Linked DNA regions of Homo sapiens: regions 2, 3, 4, 5, 6 and 7 are each linked to region 1. Evidence: promoter capture Hi-C in 16 types of primary human blood cells and fetal thymus (Javierre and others, 2016). All regions are on one chromosome and are shown on one strand. The core of a region is centred on a gene start or on the middle of the fragment in contact, and the rest is flanking DNA. Distances in the headings are between cores, read along the strand shown.

What was found. Contacts are between HindIII fragments. The CHiCAGO score rates a contact against its expected background, and 5 or more counts as called.
Region 2: a fragment that was not itself captured here is called in contact with the fragment with the promoter of SARAF in region 1 in 1 of 17 cell types (activated CD4 T cells); the score reaches 5.0 in activated CD4 T cells.
Region 3: a fragment that was not itself captured here is called in contact with the fragment with the promoter of SARAF in region 1 in 17 of 17 cell types (fetal thymus, activated CD4 T cells, M0 macrophages and 14 more); the score reaches 26.2 in fetal thymus.
Region 4: a contact is called between a fragment that was not itself captured here and the fragment with the promoter of SARAF in region 1, in 1 of 17 cell types (monocytes). The highest score is 6.1, in monocytes.
Region 5: a fragment that was not itself captured here is called in contact with the fragment with the promoter of SARAF in region 1 in 1 of 17 cell types (monocytes); the score reaches 5.0 in monocytes.
Region 6: a contact is called between a fragment that was not itself captured here and the fragment with the promoter of SARAF in region 1, in 1 of 17 cell types (monocytes). The highest score is 5.1, in monocytes.
Region 7: a contact is called between a fragment that was not itself captured here and the fragment with the promoter of SARAF in region 1, in 2 of 17 cell types (M1 macrophages and monocytes). The highest score is 6.5, in M1 macrophages.

What each region holds. Positions count from the first base shown.
Region 1 is chr8:30,081,623-30,084,322 of GRCh38, forward strand. SARAF (store-operated calcium entry associated regulatory factor) reads right to left here and starts at 1,442. Exons shown (of 6, transcript NM_016127.6): 1 at 1,225-1,442. The coding sequence starts at 1,327. RefSeq lists an enhancer at 1,006-1,355 and a silencer at 1,396-1,765. The HindIII fragment of the contact is 3,638 bases long and covers 1-1,737 here.
Region 2 is chr8:29,395,700-29,398,399 of GRCh38, forward strand. No RefSeq gene overlaps it. Among named protein-coding and RNA genes, the nearest start is that of DUSP4, 46 kb to the left of the region's middle. The HindIII fragment of the contact is 1,471 bases long and covers 551-2,021 here.
Region 3 is chr8:29,338,265-29,340,964 of GRCh38, forward strand. DUSP4 (dual specificity phosphatase 4) reads right to left here. Exons shown (of 4, transcript NM_001394.7): 2 at 1,834-1,979; 3 at 18-237. Among named protein-coding and RNA genes, the nearest start is that of DUSP4, 11 kb to the right of the region's middle. RefSeq lists an enhancer at 1,948-2,242. The HindIII fragment of the contact is 1,897 bases long and covers 305-2,201 here.
Region 4 is chr8:29,255,502-29,258,201 of GRCh38, forward strand. The region is part of intron 1 of KIF13B (kinesin family member 13B); the gene reads right to left. Among named protein-coding and RNA genes, the nearest start is that of KIF13B, 6.2 kb to the right of the region's middle. The HindIII fragment of the contact is 2,764 bases long and covers 1-2,700 here.
Region 5 is chr8:29,236,021-29,238,720 of GRCh38, forward strand. All of the region lies in intron 2 of KIF13B (kinesin family member 13B), which reads right to left. Among named protein-coding and RNA genes, the nearest start is that of KIF13B, 26 kb to the right of the region's middle. The HindIII fragment of the contact is 8,290 bases long and covers 1-2,700 here.
Region 6 is chr8:29,219,224-29,221,923 of GRCh38, forward strand. The region is part of intron 2 of KIF13B (kinesin family member 13B); the gene reads right to left. It also overlaps the pseudogene HMGB1P23. Among named protein-coding and RNA genes, the nearest start is that of KIF13B, 42 kb to the right of the region's middle. The HindIII fragment of the contact is 9,413 bases long and covers 1-2,700 here.
Region 7 is chr8:29,199,982-29,202,681 of GRCh38, forward strand. All of the region lies in intron 2 of KIF13B (kinesin family member 13B), which reads right to left. Among named protein-coding and RNA genes, the nearest start is that of KIF13B, 62 kb to the right of the region's middle. The HindIII fragment of the contact is 1,398 bases long and covers 562-1,959 here.

The DNA of each region.
Region 1 (2,700 bases), core at 192-2,691:
ACCTGTTGCTTAAATTCGACAATGCAGGCATTTCCAATCACCAAATCACAAAGGCAATATGCTTTCCATGCCATCTTTACTTCGCAAAGCAAAAATGATGTTGTTTTCATTTTTTTTTTTTTTTACAGAATTCCAAAGTAACAGCATGCGTCATTTATTACATGGAAAAAGTCAAAATCTGTATCTAAGTATATAGACATATACGTATTAATTGCACGGAATATTACTGATCCCATGAAAATTCTTTAGACAATTTTAATACTGTACTGACATAAAAGAACCTCTTTCCTAAAACCCACTTATCATGTACCATCACTAAAAAAAACCGAGAAAATTATTTTTTAAATTCTTCTCTACGGTGAAAGCCAATGGGAAGAGCTGGTGCCGCGCGATGTACATCACTGCAATCGTCAGATAAGAGGCAGCGGTTCTCATAAAGACGCGGTGGCTCACGCCTGTAATCCCAGCACTTTGGGAGGATGAAGGCGGGTGGATCACGAGGTCAGGAGGTCGAGACCAGCCTGGCCAACATAGTAAAACCCCGTCTCTACTAAAAATACAAAAAAATAGCCAGGCATGGTGGTGGGCACCCGTAATCTCAGCTACCGGTGAGGCCGAGGCAGGAGAATCTCTTGAACCCAGGAGGCGGAGGTTGCAGTGAGCCGAGATCACGTCATTGCAGTGCGGCCGGGGCGACAATGTGAGACTCCGACTCAAAAAAAAAAAAAAGAGTGCAATCTGCGATTCTGCTAACAGACCTGCGAGGTCTGCAGCCCTGTCCGCTAAGGGTGACTCAGAGACTGCCAGTGGCAGGCAACGGCCGGCGATAGCAACAGGCAGCCATGACAACAGCAGGCCACGATGACATCACACAGCCATAACAACAAAGCAGATGCGCAGGTGAGTGTCCAGCTCTCCAGTTATACTCAGAGATGAGAAAGACGACAATGGGCAAATTCCGGGAGTCCGGGGCAGGGAGAAAGGGGACCTTAAGGATCTCCAGCCGTCCCGCCCCGCCCACTCGAGCAGTCCCTACCCGCCTCCCAAGACGCCTGGGAAGAGCAGTGGAACCAGGGAGAGCACGAACAGCAAAGAGGTCAGACATGGGGAATCCGGGCACCCAGGCTCCGGGAAGACGGCGCACGGAAACGCAGGGGAGCCTGCACCGGCTGACGGCGGCGGAAAAGGGCGAACGAAGCGCCTGAGGGCCCTGGCAGCACTCACCAGGGTCGTTCCAGCCCAGGGCAGGGCCCGCGGTCAGCAGAAACAAATGCAAGCCGAGGAGCAAGCAGTACCCGGCCGCTCCCGGCCCGCAGGCTGCGGCCATGGCGCTCGATGAAGATGGCGCCGGGCTGCCAGACGCCTACGGGCCGAACCTGGGTGCGGTAGCGCGCGCGACGCTGCGCAGCTACACCGCTACCCCTGGCGGCGGCGAAGGAACGGCCCGACTGCAGAGCTGCAGCCGCAACGGATCCGTGCGCCAACCCTACGTCACTGCCGCTGCGGCCCGTGGGGCTCAGTGAGTGGCCGCCGTGGGCCCCCGCCCCTGGAGCACAGCGCGGCTTGGGGCGGGGCGAGGCGGTGTGGGCGGGGCCAAGGGCCTGGGGAGGCACGGCTGGAGGCGGGTTGGAGGCGTGGCGCCGCGGTGTGGGCGGGGCCGAGGGCCTGTCGCCGCCGCGCCCGCGGGCGGGGCGAGGGCAGCGCGCAGCTTTGTTGTGTCTCGTCTGAGATTCGGGAAGCTTCTGTGCGTAGGCGATGCAGTTTGAGAGGCTGAAAACGTCACGACGCGAAATCTAAGAAATGTAGTCAAATTATGTATTATTAAAACCTCAATAATTGTACCAAGGGTAGTTCTGTGCTTTATTCAGCTCTATGTGTTCAGCACTTAGCATAGCGCTTGGTACATGGTTAGTGTTCTATGACTGGTTGCTAAATACAGAGAAGATTCAAGCGAAAAGTAACAGGGAAATACATTGTCTGGTTTCAAGGCTCAGAACCTTTACATGGTTCCTTGCGCATGGAGGCCGGAAGACTATAAAATGTCAAGAGGAGAAAATATCGTCTGAATGAAGAACCAGCCAGAGAAAACAGTTCTCTGGGCTTTTGAGGTCTAGCAGGCTTGGGTTTCTTTCATTCATTCATTCATTCATTCATTCATTCATTCATTCAATGAATATATGTTGAATACCTAATACGCACCAGGCACTGTTTTAGGCATGGATGGTACAGACAAGATCCCTGTACTCATTGAAATAGAATAGGACAAACGACATACCAATTAAACAACAAAAATAATAGGTAATGATAGGTAATAACATTGATGAAAAACAGGGTGATATAATGGAGCCTGGGGACACAACTTCAGGGAGGGCCTTGCTGAGGAAGTGGTTTTTGAAGCTTGGGACCTGAATGATGAGAAAGAACTAGCCGTACAAAGATCAGGGGACTCATCTTCCCATCTGGGGAACAGTGGATGCAAAAGCCCTAACTTTGTGTTTCGAGGAAGAGTTATTTGGTCAGATCCTATAAAGAGTTCAGTCCCACAAGATGGCCCCAACTTCAGACATCAATCACAAGTCTCAGGTTGTGACCTATGCTTCTGACCAACCAGCTATAAATTAGGGTTTCCAGGCCGGGCGTGGTGGCTCATGCCTGTAATCCCAGCATTTTGGAAGGCCAAGGCAGGTGAATCGCCTGAGG
Region 2 (2,700 bases), core at 36-2,535, 690 kb before region 1:
ATTTTTATTAAGAATAATTATCAGAGAACAAAACATCCCCACACATCAATGCCAGTTTTCACTTATAGGGATGTTATTGAAGAATTTTAGAATAATGCAGAGATTTCCTAAAAGTGATGGCAAAAATAACACTGGTAAAATGACATAGCGTGCTATAAGTATTGAGTGAGTGAAAATAAATTTTTTTCAAAGGTTTGTAAAATACGAAGGCTAGGATAATAACATGTAAGTAACAAACCCAGCCTTTGGGATCAGTTTTAATAGTCTTAAATTTGGAAGATTTGGTGGAGGGTTTGATAATTGGGCAAGGTTTCTTGGAGGGCTTGATGGTATGGTTCTGATTTTTTGTGTGCTGATATCTCTGATGAATACTATCATATGGGGTAATATTATTCCTTTTGAATTATTCGCCTGACTGACTTTTCAACTGGGTGTGATTCCTCTCTACTGTTAACATCTCAGCCTTTTCTATGTACTTTTGCATTCATCTTATAATGTTAGTATCTTCTTTCCCCTATTAATTTAAAACTCTATTGAGGGCAAGACTTAAAGCTTACTTATCTCTACAGCTCCTGCATAATTTAGCATAGAGATAGAAATTCAGAATTGACTCATATAGCCAAGTTCCCCTGAAATCAAAAATAAGGAGTAAAAAAATAAATTCATGAGAGAGTGATTTATAAATCAGAATACCAATTTATGATCAGAGTTTATGCTCATACTGCTTGTCAACTATTTCTGGTTCTTTCTACTTCTGGGCACATTTTCAGATTGTACCTCTCGGCCCCCATGTAGTTGGGCAGAGGATACACACAACAGGGTCTTGACATTAAGTTGTGAGTAGAAATGTGATATGTCACATCTGGGCTACAGCGAAGGTGACCAAGTGTCCTAGTTTCCTGAGACTGAGGGGTTTCCCAGGATGTGAGAATTACAGTGCTAAATCAGGACAGTCCCCAGCAAGCTAAGCCAATTGTCACATTAGCTGGAACATTTAATTGCTGGTTCAAGACCCTCCACAACTCACTCTGTTTCCTTCCGGCACAGAAACTGACAACATTTGAGGTAGTGAGTACCCTATCATCCTAGGTCCCTGGATCATTACAATGAGCATAGACTGCCTACTCATGAACCTATAATGGACATGTAAGCATTAGCAGTAATTAAAACTTTATTCCAGTATAGCATGTAGATTTTAGAATTTTTGTTATTGCAACAGAACCTAGTTGATCCTAACCGATACATGAATATAGGTAACAATTGATCTGATATGCAGTGGTGAATAAGTGCTTCTTTTTTTCTTCATCTTCTAATGGGAAAGTTTGCTTAGAAAATCAAAGAATATGGGAAGATCACTCAGTGAAATCATAAGCAGAACAAAAAGAGTTGGATAATATTAGCATGTTTTCATCAATCTGTGCTAGGTTTATCCTTCATTCTCTTCTCTACACAGCTATATATGTCAAGCAGACTGGGTCAGGGACTGTCTCCTATTAATGGTGTTGGAGAAGAATGGGCCAATCAGTACGTCCAGATTTTTCCCTTCAATACTCAACTTCATCATATTATTTTATTTTCACAATTAAAAATTACAATTCTAAGCTAATAATGTGCTTAGCAATGTTTCCATTTTACGTAAGTTTCCTAGTGACATCTAGGAAGGGCCTATTAGTCTCATCCATAAATTTTTCCTCATTCACATTTCTGGGGGGCGATTTCATTTATTAGTTCAACAAATAGTTGTTAATGCCTATTTCTGCCAGGTATAAACAAGGCAGGTAAGATCCCTGACCTATTGGAGTTCGTATTTCTCTGAGTTGGTTTAGGGTTAGCTATAGTAATTGAGACTCAGCAATAATTTGGTGGTTAAAGTTAGAACTGTGTTCCTCTCTCATATAATAGTCCAAAGAGACACTCCAGTTGGCAGGCAGCTCTGCTCCACACCAGCTATCAAGGACCCAGTTTCCTTCTACTGGGTTACTCCACCATCAACTATGGTCTTGTCATTGCTACATGGTTGAAGCTTGGGTGGTGAGTAGGTTTGCTGGTAGGAAAGACAAAATAATTCAGAAAAGGCATGGCCACTTTCTAACGCTCAAGCCTAGAAGTGACACATGTCATTTCCATTCACAGTCTGTTGGGTGAGAACTGAGTCACATGACACTCTGAACCATAAGGGAGTCTGGGAAATGCGGTTGGCTTCTGTGCCCAGACACCAGTATGAAATGGTAGGCAGTGAACAACCTCAATTACAACATTCTGATGGGAGACATAATAGCTTATTACCTGCTTCTCTGCATACAAACCTCTTCCTGTCACTGTGGGGTGAAGGATACTAAAGAAAAAAAAGGATTATCTCTTCCATAAGGAATCTGCATCTTATTAGAAGAAATACTCTCTGTGTGGATACAGACACAAAGCTACAAGTATGACAGAGAATGCTGTAAATGCCCAAAGCACAAAACACACAGAGTTCAAAGGGCAAAGGGTTATAACATGCTATGATGGCCCTGTGGGACAGTAACCCTCCTAGACCCTTTCCTGTGCAACATTAGCTCTGCTCTATTGCTGTTCATGCCTTTCATCATTCTCTGCGCAATATCAACTCACCTATATTTTGTCTGCACTGAGAAACAAATCCTCTCTCTGTCACCCCCCTATGGAACGTTCGACACCTTTATAATGTTCCCCATCAGTAGG
Region 3 (2,700 bases), core at 3-2,502, 740 kb before region 1:
GAGCAGGGCCAGCCTACCGATGTACTCTATGGCTTCCATGAACCAGGAGCTGATGTCGGCCTTGTGGTTATCTTCCACTGGGATGCACTTGTACTGATAGTGTCCTTCAAAGTGGTTTGGGCAGTCCGAGGAGACATTCAACAGAGCCGTGATGCCCAGGGCGTCCAGCATGTCTCTCCGGGCAGCATGGTAGGCACTGCCGAGGTAGAGGAAGGGAAGGATCTCCACAGGACCCCCCTGCACAGAAAGGGAAACAAAGGCCCCTGAATGACATGAGGGTAAAGTGCTTGGCACAGGGAGTGGAAGCTTGTCTGAGAAGAGCTTTCCTTTCCAAACCCAGGGAGAATGCCTGCTGGGCCTGGCCCTCCCAGCCTCCCCCTGTAGCCTCCTGGAACTCTTGGAGGGGTGATAGGCCCAGTGGGACTTCTCCAGCCTTTGCCCTCTACTTGTGAGCAGAGAGGCCAGGGCAGGTAAAGTCTTGTGGGACTCTCCTGCACCTCCCCCATGGCAAAATAAGCGGCAGGACAATGCCGGCCTTATGGCACCATCTGTGACACTGAGTTTATATCTGCTAATCATCAAGCCATTTGCTGTGTGGTTTAGATACTTATTTGTTTTGATATGTATTCACTGGGCATATCAAAAACAGGTGTGCAGTGGCTCACACCTGTAATCTCAGCACTTTAGGAGGCTGAGGTGGCAGGATCATGTGAGCCAGGAGTTCCAAGACCAGCATGGGCAACACAGTGAGACCTCATCTCTCAAACAATGAAGCTGGCATGATGGTGCACACCTGTAGTCTCAGTTGCTTGGGAGGCTGAAATGGGAGGATCATTTGAGCCCAGGACTTTGAAGCTGCAGTGAGCTATGATTGCGCCACAGGACTCAAGCCTGGGTAACAGAGTGAGACTCTGTCTCTAAAAATAAACAAATAAATAAGCTGATGCCCTCATGGCCACACAGACAAGAGAGAGGATCTTGGCAAAATGAGGCAACAGTGGCTTAAATTTAGCACATGAGATGTGGGCAGCAGAGTCCATCTAACTGAAAGGGCTGGAGGGTGGGCTTATAAGAAACACAGTGGCTCAAGCAGGTTTTCTTGGAGGGAGGGTGGGTGACCATCTATGTTCATTCGGCTGATACGTGGGAGCAGCCTGCCTGTCGGGGACTGAGATGTATTTCATGGCCTGCTACTTCAGAGGAGAATGACCTCAGCTTCCCAGAGAGCAGGTCCCCCAGGGCTTCTGGAGGCCTCCTCACTTGTCCGGACACGACGTTAGAGGCCAAGCCAGGGAGTCATGTCTTTAGACTTTTTTCTTAGGAGGATATTTAGAGAGGGAAGGGGAAGATTTCCAAGAAGTAAATAGGTCCTACCTAACATCCCACCCCAATACTCCGGGTTCACCGCATTCTCCCCAAATTGAGGCATAACATTCAAAGACTTAAAAAAATCTCAGGATTGGATGCAGTGGCTCACGCCTGTGATCCCAACACTTTGGGAGGCCAAAGCAGGAGGATCACTTGAGGCCAGGAGTTCAAGACCAGCCTGGGCAACATAGCAAGACCCCCCCCCCCCATCTCTACCAAAAACCTTTTAAAATTAGCCAGGCATGGTAGTGCCACCTGTAGTCCCAGCTACCAGGGAGGATCCCTTGAGCCCAGGAGTTCGAGGCTGCAGTAAGCTATGATCACACCACTGCACTCCTGGGTGACAGAGCAAGACTGTCTCAAAAGCAAAGACAAAAAACACCGTCAGAACTCTGAAAAGAAGGCATCCACTGGCCCCTACGCTGTTCCTGCCCCCCACTTCCAAGCCCTGCCCCCCGAGTCTACCTGGTCGTGTAGTGGGGTCCCACAGGAGCTGCAGCCCAGGTCCAAGGGCTCTGTGGCACTGGGGGGAACCGGGGGTGGGATGGCTGCCAGGGCCTTGGTTTTAGAACAGAATTCTGGGTACTCGGAGGAAAACCTCTCATAGCCGCCTGTAAAGGAGAAAGAAGCTCAGGTTAATGGGGTCACTAAGCCAGCAGGAAGTCAGAAAGAACTCGACTCCTACAGACTCAGGCGGACTGCTAGGAAGGCAGGGGCTGGCGTGCTCCATATTGGCCACTAGGTGGCGCTGTGGACCTAGAGAATGGCCATGGAGTGGTTTCCAGAGATGCAGAGGACACACTCGTCAGGACTGCAGCAAAGCTGGAAGGATAAGCTTTATGGACAAGACTTGGGTTAGAGAGGTAGACATACAAAGGAAGACGTGCAGGGGGATGTGCAGAAGTGACTGTGGAGTAGCTCCTCAGGACAATGACAAAATAGAGAAGCAAAGGTCACGCTGGGCTTCCAAGGACACTAAGTACCTGTAGAGACACCTGCCACCCCTGATTCCAGCCCTTCCTCAGGGGAGGTTCTCCAATGTGAGAAAGAAGGGAAAAAATGACCCTGGTACAAACTCTTCTGGATCTCAGCAATGGAACAGATGTCCATTGCACGTCCTCATGAATAGCTGTTCCGTCACCAAGAGACCAGAACAAGAGGAAAACGGGCTTAAATCTAAATAAACCCCTCATGCTATGTACAGGTTTGGGGCAAGGGAGTATTTCCTGACCTGAGAGTGGGTAAGCCCTGGAATGGTTATCTGTGGGATCATCTTCCAGAGAAGGGAGATCTTTTAAATAAAAAAAGAAGATGATGATAAATGGCCAGCTG
Region 4 (2,700 bases), core at 88-2,587, 830 kb before region 1:
TCCCATATTTCAAAAACTTCTATCTATTGGCTCTATCTATACAAGGTTCAAATATCTCCCCAAAACTTTTTTTTTTAAAAAAAGGTACCTACCCCTCCAGGTACCACTCTGAACCCTCCCCTTCTACCTGGAGTTTCTCAGAGGAATGTTCTTGAGACTCGCTGCCTCCATACTGGCACGCCCACTCACTCCTCAGCCCACTGCCAATGCCCAATACCAATTAATTCGTTTCAGTGAAATTATCCTGAAAATGAACACTGACCATCATAATGCCAAATCCACTGAACACAATTCTGTGTTAATCACGCGGCCATTCCTGTGACATGTGATTGCTTTCACCTTTCACTCTTTTGACACATTTTTCCTCCCTAGGCATCCACAACATTGCTTTCACCTGATTCTCCTGAGGTTGCTCTTCTTGGCCTCTGTGACCGCCTCTGTCACAGACACACCTGAGGTGCTCTATCTTCTACCTACAGTAATGACTCCGAAATCTACACCTACGTCCAGTCCCTTCGTTTCAGACTCATATTCACAATGGCCTTCTGGATCCATCCACCTGGCTGCACTTCAGACACCTAAAACTCAATTGTGCTGAGTTGCTTCCAGGCACACACTGCATCTTATTCATAGTTGCAGGCAGGGTACACAGCACATAAGCACTGACGACACACTGTTGACTGAGACTAGAACTCATCATTTCCCACACCTCCACCCTAAAACCTGCTTCTCCTGTGCTTCTGATTCAGTTAATGACACCAGCATTCACCTAGTCATCTAAATCAGAGACTTTGCAGCGGATTCCCCAAGTTCAGTGATCCTCAGATGCCGACACAAACCCACTGTATGTGCAGCACCCATCTGGATTCCTCCACGTCACCCCGGTGGAACTTGGAGCCAAGGGGCCTGCTTGTGCTGTCTTCTGTGCTGTTCTCAAATTCCACCCCCATTTCTTTAATTCATGATTGGCTGCCATCAGTGCACTAGGTACATATATTCTTCCAATGAACTCACATGTGCATCTTATTATCAACAAGACTGGGAGCTCCTTTGATGGAAGATCAAGACTTATGCTTCCAGTTTATCCTGCACATCTTTGAAAATGGTGTCATCTCAGGATAGCAAGATCCTCTTAAAGATAATCATGTCCAACATTGTAGTAAAAGCACAGGTGGGTTTTGTAATTCTGGGAATGTTAATTAACCTCTCTGAGGTTCTGCTACATAGAAATGCTACAATTACTACTTTTTTTGTTTGTTTGTTTGTTTGTTTTGAGACAGTCTCGCTCTGTCGCCCAGGCTAGAGTGCAGTGGTGCGATTTCAGCTCACTGCAACCTCCGCCTTCCAGGTTGAAGCGATTATCCCACCTCAGCCTCCTGAGTAGCTGGGATTACAGGCACTCACCACCACACCCAGCTAGTTTCTGTATTTTTAGTAGAGACAGGGTTTCACCATGTTGGCCAGTCTGGTCTCAAACTCCTGGCCTCAAGTGATCCACCCACCTCGGCCTCCCAAAGTGCTGGGAGTACAGGGGTGAGCCACCACACCTGGCCTACAATTCCTTTTCAAAGTCTGGTTTGAAGAATAAAATAATGCATTAAAAAGCATTGAACTCCATTGCTCGCAAATAGAAAGTTGTCAAAAAGCAGCTATTTTCTTTTTCTTCAGTCAACACTGTTGAAATGAATGACTAATGGATACCATTTTCTAAAGATATCTTTATCTCCTCAGAGCGAAAGCCCCATACAGTTAAGTCATGGACTTGCATGGAGTGGACCAGTTAGTTTCACGCACTTCCCAGGTCACAGGGCACACTGCTCATCTTGGTCGAGTTTTTGTTTTTTTTTTTAAAGAACATGCTCTGCCAAACACAAGGGGAACTTGAGGAGCAAGCATAGAGATCAATACATCCATTTCCACTCAATCAGCACTTCAATCCATCTCCTTAATTAATAGTTTTGTCAGTGGTTTCTTCCATTTTCAGCACTTAAGAAGTGGAAAAGTCGGACAGTTATTGTTTTATGGAGGTGAGAGGGTAAAAGCTAATGCCAATTAAACAACATTGTATTTTATATTATAAATGTATATTTCTTGAAAAGAGGTCTGGCCAGCCAGAGCAACAAAGTGAGACCCTATCTCTACAAAAAATATTGAAATTAGACAGACATGGTTGTGCACACCTATGTACCAACTCCACAGCAGGCTGCAGCAGGAATATCGCTAGAGCCCAGGAGGTTGAGGTTGAGGATGCAGTGAGTGATGATCATGCCACTGCACTCCAGCCTGGGCAACAGAGGGAGACCCTGTCTCAAAAAAAATAAATAAATAAAAACAAAGAAACCAACCAACAAACAAAAAACAGGAGATTTGGGGAAAAGAATTTAAAAGTATACCTTCTTCTCAAAATGCCTCTGGCCCTATGTGCATATATCCAAATTTCAGTCACTGAGTTGACAGTAGAAACAAAACAATGTTGTAATACATGTGTGTCTCATTCACCATTAGCATGTCAAGCAGATGCTGACAAAACAAGTATCTTCTGTTTTAGCAAATACTGCCAGAAATTTCCATCCACGGTCCTCCTTGGCTCCACATCTGTCAGTGATCTCTCTGAGAATACTGAAGAATCACCAATGACCCCAGGGGTCAAAGCCACCTTCTCCTGTCCCTTCATTTCCTAAGGGTCACCTCTATCTTCAC
Region 5 (2,700 bases), core at 36-2,535, 850 kb before region 1:
ATCCGGCTTCTTCAACAACTGAGGAGCCAATAAATTAAAAACCATACCACCCAACCTCAAAGTGCAGACCACATCTCAATCCTATTCAAAACAAACTTCGGGGAAAAAAAGACTTGATGAGATAATTGGGCATTTAAACACTGAAAATTTGATGCCACCACCTCACTATATTTTTTTCCTCCTCCTCACACCTATTTTAAATTGTTTAGATATGATAAATGGTATTGAGGTTATGTTTACAAATAATAAAAGATACATTAAAACATCTGTGGGTAAAATCAGATCTCCTTCAAAATAATATGGGGAAGAAGACAGGGATGAAGATGTAGCTAGGACAGTATCAGCCACAAATTAATGGTTTTCAGGGGTGAGTGACAAGAGCATGGAGGTTCATTATACTATTATACTATTCTGCCTAAATTGGCATATCTTTTAAATTCTCCATAACAAAAGTTTTTAAAAATTAAATTGCAAATAAAACTTTTACATATTCGATGATCTTTACATAAATTCTATTTCAATTTTCCTAAAAGTGGAACAAAAGGATTACTGACTTGTATATACAGGTCAAAACATAAAGATAGTCACTACTCTTAATAATTATGACCCATCCTATATAAGTTTTTACTTAATTAAAAGTATATATAAATTACGTTTGATAGAAGTAAAGCAAAGGTGAAATTTACCATCTATAAAATACCTGTGCTTTTTAAAAGAACTCTGTGGAAGAAGTTTGAGGACTCCAGAGTTCTAAACGCTTTTCTTTGTAAAAGAAAACTTTCTCACAAGAAAATGTACAATTCTCAAAATTAAACAATCAAATCATTTCAAATTTGAGTGTGCAAAATCTAACAAGATGCACAACAGAATAACTTTTTCTGCTTTCCAGTTTTTTGTTTTGCTTTTTTTTACTAGTATGCTTATAGATACATCATGTAAAAAAATTAATAACACCATAAATTTAATGGAACTAAGGATTGGTAAAGATTAACCTAACTCTCAGCTTGATACTTGGCACACTGTTGATGTTCGAATATTGAATGCATCAGAAAAAATTATAAACATGTTATGATACAACAACTTTTGTGGCTGAATGGGTTTCTCATGTCACATTTCCTCAAGGAATACTGCTCCCTCCATCTTTAAAACAGAAATCTAGATTCTTATACAGCATCTGATTTATATTAGTAACAATTTCTATCCTACAGATTGAGACAAAGAGCGCTAAAAAAGTACTGTCAAAAAAACTAAGCAAAATAAGCCAAAAAAAAAATGCAATAGTAGGACCTGGTAGTTGCCTAAACTGTGTTCATAATTAGATATTTTATTTAATATATTATATGCAATCTGACCACTTTATGCTGAGTCCAGAATTCTAGGGAAATTCAAAACACGTAATTCCTATTATCCATAACTAACTTAATCTAGAGCTGGCAACTAACCATATACACAAACCCTGAGTCCACATATCAAATGTTAGTATCCAGGTAGTAATTCAAGCACAGAGCTAAAGAAAGACTCTTTTCTTGTATTTTTTAAAAAGTTTATTCCTTCTTATTGCTGCACCAAAAGTAGTAAAAGCATGAGCAAAATAATATTTATATTCAATGATAATGCTAAAATATCAAATTCTATAGTAGCAGTCTATTGGCTACCAGTTTATTTTGGCAACCAGCTAGACTCTGCTGGTAAAACTTTGCAAAATTTGTATTTGCTGCAATTTGACTACCTGCTTCCATTAATTATGCAATGATATGCATTCAACCACACATATTTTCTTATCTTTTTAGCTTTTAAGAGTCTCCCTGATTCATCTTCACAAGTATATTCAAAAGTAGTAAATGATCACAGTATTCTTTTTAAAGGGAGAGGCTGAGGAATCATATACAACTTCTGAGTACACAGAACCACGCTCTCCCCACTGTACTCTAATAAAATTAGCAGGACGGGCTCCCTGAGGAAGAGCCCCATTATGAAATTAAAACATACCACGTACTGTTCTCCAGAGGAGCAGACTCTATTTGAGGAGAAATATTAGCCCCACTCAAGTCATTTCACAGCAGAGAGAACAAACAGGTCTATTGTGGGTACCATAATTACATTTTGCATGACTTCCTTCAATTAAAATCGCTATTTAAATTAGCATCCATATAGCAGTAGAGAAATCTAAAAAGTCATTATCTAATATGACCTAATGATGCCTTCCACTAACAAGGAATTAGTCTGAAAATGACTTCATGTATGCCATAAGGCCCTCCCCTCAGTAGCATTATGCAATATAATTTGCAAGAGAAGTGTATGGACATGGGTCAAACTCACTCAATTCTGCACATACTTTAAGGGCTCCAATCTGTACATCCACCAGGGTCAGAGTACACTGAAGCTCCAAAGAAGGGTTGGGTGTGTTTTGTTCATATTAGGTACTCATTAATTACCTAATGATACTGACTAAATTGATGTCTAGTAAAACTATCAGAAGGAACAAAAAGATTTTTAATGGCCTTACTAAAAAAGATGATGTGATCAACATCTCAGTCTTCCCATTAGACTGGCAGCTGTAACCTTTACGCTGTCTATTGTTCATTAGGTTAAACATGACACATGGGGGATGGAGAGGGCAGCATCATATTTTACTGTAAAACAAGAACAGTCTCTGCCTATTTGTGCCATCTGTGGCTACTTTCATCCATGTTAGAGCAT
Region 6 (2,700 bases), core at 44-2,543, 860 kb before region 1:
TGGCGATGTTGGAAAGAACTGGGCAAGATGTGGAATAATAACGCTGCTGCCGATGCCAGGCAGACCCAAGACCAGAGGGCTGCTAAGCTGAAAGAAAACACAAAAAGTCTATTACTGCATATGAACTCAAGAAAAGCCTGATGGGGTGAAAAAGGCAGTCATCAAGGCTGCAAAAAAGCAAGAAAAGGAAGAGGAAGAAGAAGAGAAAGATGAAGACGAAAAGGAGGAGTAGAAAAGAAAATGAAGATGATGGGTCAGGCACGGTGCCTCATGCCTGTAATCCCAGTACTTTGGGAACTGAGACAGTTGAATCGCTTGAGCCCAGGAGTTCAAGACTAGCCTTGGCAACATGGTGAAACCCCATCTCTACAAAAAATACAAAAAAAGTTAGCCAAGCATGGTGCCTATAGTCCCAGCAACTCGGGAGGCTGCGGTGAGAAAATCACCTGAGTCGGGGAGGCAGAGGCTTCAGTGAGCCAAGATTGTGTCACTGCACTCCAGCCTGGGTGACACCCTGTTTCCAAAATAAATAAATAAATAAATAAATAAATAAATAAGGCAAGCCTCGGTGGCTCACGCCTGTAATCCCAACACTGTGGGAGGCCAAGGCAGGCAGATCGCTTGAACCCAGGAATTCAAGACCAGCCTGGGGAACATGGTGAAACCCCATCTCTACTAAAAATACAAAACATTAGCCGGGTGTGGTGGTGCATGCCTATGATCCCAGCTACCTGGGAGGCTGAGGTGGAAGGATCACATGAGCACAGGAAGTAGAGCTTGCAGTGAGCCGAGATCATGCCACTGCACTCCAGCCTGGGCAACAGAGTGATGACCCTCTCTCAAAAAATAAAAAATGAAATGAAAGTGATGATGATGAATAAGTTGGTTCTAATACATTTTTGTCTATAAAAATTTAACCCCCCTGTACACAACTCACTCCTTTAAAGAAAAAAACTGAAATGTAAGGCTACGTGAGACTTGTTTTTAAACTGTGCAGTATCTTCTTTTGTATAGTTAATGTACTACCCAATGTGTCTTCAGAGAGCCCTGTCCTGATGGTATTCCCAGTGGTCACTAGCCTTGCCTGGTACTCTACGGGGCTGTAAACTGGCATGGAAATTTAAAGCAGGTCTTGCCAGTGCTCAGGACAGCTAGTTACATATGGGGATGGTTGTTGCTTTTTCATCTTCAGTTGTCTCTGATGCAGCTTATATAAAATAACTGTTGTTCTGTTAACTGAACACTACTCAGTAACTGGCAAGGAGGGGAAGGCGACAGCTGGTTTGTTGACATTCTGAATGTTTCTAAGTAAATAAAATTTCTTTATTTAAAAAAAAAAGTCTATATTAGGACAGTCTCCATGAAACAGCCCATGGGTTTTGATAATAAGCCCACAGAGAAGGACGAGGAAGCCTAAGACACCCTTTGGTCTAGCACTGACAGAAAAAGATACATACAAACATACACACCAATGTCAACTTATGCATAAAGAAAGGTGGCTTGTAAAAGAGCGCAGGAAGGAGAAACACGGGGTCTCATAATGTTGGTAAGAAAAGAGTAGAGAGATAACGTTTAAGGTTGATTTAACAAGAAATATGAGTATCAATACGTTATGTAAAAACATCCCAGAAAATCTCAGTACTTTGGGAGGCCAAGACAAGTGGATCGCTTGAACCCAGGAGTTCAAGACCAGCCTGGGCAACACAGCAAAACCCCATCTCTATAAATAAATATATTTTTATATGTTAAAATTTAAATATGTACATACATTAACTGGGTGCGGTGGCATGCACCTGTAGTGTCACCTACTCAAGAGGCTGCTGTGGGAGGATCACCTGAGCCCAGGGAAGCTGAGGCTGCAGTGAGCTGTGTTCTTTTTTTTTTTTTTTTTTTTTTTGAGATGGAGTCTCACTCTGTCACCCAGGCTGGAGTGCAGTGGTATGATCTCAGCTCACTGCAACCTCCACCCCCCAGGTTCAAGCAATTCTCCTGCCTCAGCCTCCCAAGTAGCTGGGATTACAGGCATGTGCCACCACACCAAGCTAATTTTTGTGTTTTTAGTGGAGGCGGGGTTTTGCCATGTTGGGCAGGCTGGTCTCGAACTGCTGACCTCAAGTGATCTGCCCGCTTCGGCCTCCCAAAATGCTGGGATTACAGGCATGAGCCACCGCACCCGACCTGCAGTGAGCTGTGATCGTGCCACTGCACTCCAGCTTGGGCAACAGAGTGAGACCCTGTATTTAAAAAAAAAAAAAAAGGAAAGAAAAAGCAGCACAGAAAAGCACTGAAACTAATATAAAAATGAAATAGGAGAAGAGGTAAAAAGGATTGCACATATGAACTTAATCTTCTTCAAGGAGTCAATGAATATGTATCCAATATGATTTTAATATGAATCTTAATTATCCAAGGTACACATGTATCACCTAGAGTAATTGAAGTATTATTGCTCGTGTGCCCCAAAAGAATTTTGTGAAGCCTTGTAACTGCTCACACATTTTTAAGTCAATGTACAAGATTTTTCAAAATTAAGTTTGAATAGTTGCAAAGGATAATGCCCAAAATATTGTTTTTTAAACAAAATTCCTTTCAACATATCCATTGGTATCAAAATACCATAAAATTTGGTATTTGGGTATTTCATAATATTTTTAGTTTTTATATTCACTATCGATACTTTATAAAATGAAAAACCTCTTC
Region 7 (2,700 bases), core at 11-2,510, 880 kb before region 1:
TTTTATACCAAAAACATCAACTCTTCCTAAGACAAACAACAAGTATGAAATTCAATAACATATGACACATAGCAGAAGAATCCATGGGACTAACCTGAATTCACATCATCATAATAAAAACAGAAACAAACCAGTAAATTAATTACAGAGCTAAGTTTGCAGCTAGGGATTCTGATGGCTATGACAGTAAAGCTCAAATAACCTGCAAAGGCATGGGACACCCAAAGATGTAATTACAACCCTGTACAAAAATAAATAAATTAATTAATTAAACAACACCTTGTCAAAGTGTAGCTGCAATTCAATACAGCCATGTCTCACTCATCCCAAGATCCCTTAATTAGAAACCTCAACTATCCAGATCACTGTGGAGATTCAGGAAGCAAAAGCAGCTGCTGACCAATCCAGAGAAATGTCTCAAGTACAAGCACTAAAGCTGTAATTTCTCAGCTGAGTTGAATTATTTTTGTTGTTGTTGTTGCTTAACTTTATTTTGAAATACTTTCAGGCTTACAAAAAGCTCCAAAAATAGTACAAAAAAATCCTGTACACCCTTCTCCAAGCTTCCTCAAATGTTAACCACCAAATATTTCTTATATCACCACAGCTACAATGACCAAAACCAAGAAATTAACCATCAACACAGTTTATTAAATAACCTATAGACAACCTCCTCCAAATTTTGCCAATTACCCCCACTAATGTCCTTTTTTTGGTCCAAGACCTTGTGTTACATATACTTGTCATGTCTCCTCCAACCTGGGGCACTTTGTCTGTCATGACCTTGACACTTGAAGAGGACTGGCCATTTATTTTGTAGAATGTCCCTCAATCTGGGTTTGCCTAATGCTTCCTCCTGACTAAATCCAGATTGTGCATTTTGGCAAGCCCACCACTGAAGTCACATTGCGCCCTCCTTGGTGCATTCTACCAAGAGTCATATGAGGTGCATGTGCCATTACTGATCATGTTAATTCTGATCACTTGGTCAAGGCTGGATCTATGAGGTTTCCCACAGTAAAATTACTATTTTTACCTTCGTAACAAATAAGAATCATGTGGGGGATAAACTTTTAAACTATGTAAACACTCTGTTTCTCATCGTCATACTTTCACCTGCAAATTTTAGCACCCACTTATAATTCTTGCCTGCAACAATTACTATCTCCCAAATAGTGACTGTTTAGTTACTGGAGACCTCCCCAGCCCAGGTGGATGACCATGGATGAATGTGCTTTTTTGGAAGCAGGCAGCTTGGGAAACAACAAACAATATGGCTGCATATCTGGGATAAAGACAGTTATCTATGAATAAACTAACCTCTTCCTCCTTTTTACTGATCTGGCTTGTGGGCTCATGCTCACTTCTCATTTGAATAACAAATCACATCATACAAAGAAATCAAATTATATCTGTAATCTCTAGAATGCCAAAATACGAAGAAGAAATTTTATAAACTCATCACCTCTGAAAATGTTGTAATACTTCTGTCCATGACACAAAAAAAATTGATATTGGGTCCAAAAGTAAACCACACAGTATCACATATGTGTAAAACACAAAATAATATCAGTAGAAAGGAAAGTTATAGATCATTTACTGTTGTCAACTACCAAAATCAAATACTGAATCCAAATCCCATCATCTCTTTTAATTCTAAAGGTCTGAGTTGCTGAAATCTTCACAACTGAAATATTTGGAATCTCTGGTTCAACAAGACCCCACCCCAACCCGCTGTATAACGGATGTATACATCACAAAGAGCTTATTCTAATACAGCCATACTACGTCATGATATTGTTGCTTTTTTGAACTTGGCTGGCACTACCAGCAACCAAACAACAATCTGTGTGATGAGTATGATTTTTTTCTTTGTCACTCCTCCCCCACTGTACTTTCCATACATGGAATGAAGCCGAGCTGACTTGAAATTTAGAAAGTGACTACACTCACAACAGAAGCTTCTCAACATTTGCTTACTCCAGTCAACTCTCTGTAAGAAGTACAAATATCACAAAAAGCCCTGTTCGTTGTGTCCTCAATATCTAGAATTTTCCATCCACTTTTGAAGGATAAATTCTAATAGCAACATTGATAAAGTAGAGTATGACTGGAGAATAATAGCATTCAGGAGGCGGGGGGATTTGAAAACTCTACCAGTGAAAGAAGGGGAAATCCCTGTAGCTGGAGCGGGTAAGATGAGAGGAAGACAGGCTGCCCAGCCTCAAAGCTGAGGGGACTCATACCTGGCAGGGAAGCTAACTTGTTTTAGGTCACTTCCAGGGCTGCATTCAGTAAGATATACTGGGGAAGGTTGCCGCAAGTGGGATATCTCTTTATTTTATTGTTGTTTTGAGACAGAGTCTTGCTCTGTTGCCCAGGCTAGAGTGCAGTGGCAAGATCTTGGCTCACTGTAATCTCTGCCTTCTGGGTTCAAGCGATTCTTCTGCCTCAGCCTCCCAAGTAGCTGGGACTACAGGCACCCACCACCATGCCCAGCTAATTTTTGTACTTTTAGTAGAGGCAGCGTTTCACCATGTTGGCCAGGCTGTCTCGAACTCCAGACCTCAGGTGATCTGCCTACCTCAGCCTCCCAAAGTGCTGGGATTATAGGAAGTGGGTTATTTCTTTAGTATAAGAATAATTAACACTGTTTCAAGAGACAGCCAGTTCCCCTAGCAGTGGAATGTCTAAGCGGAG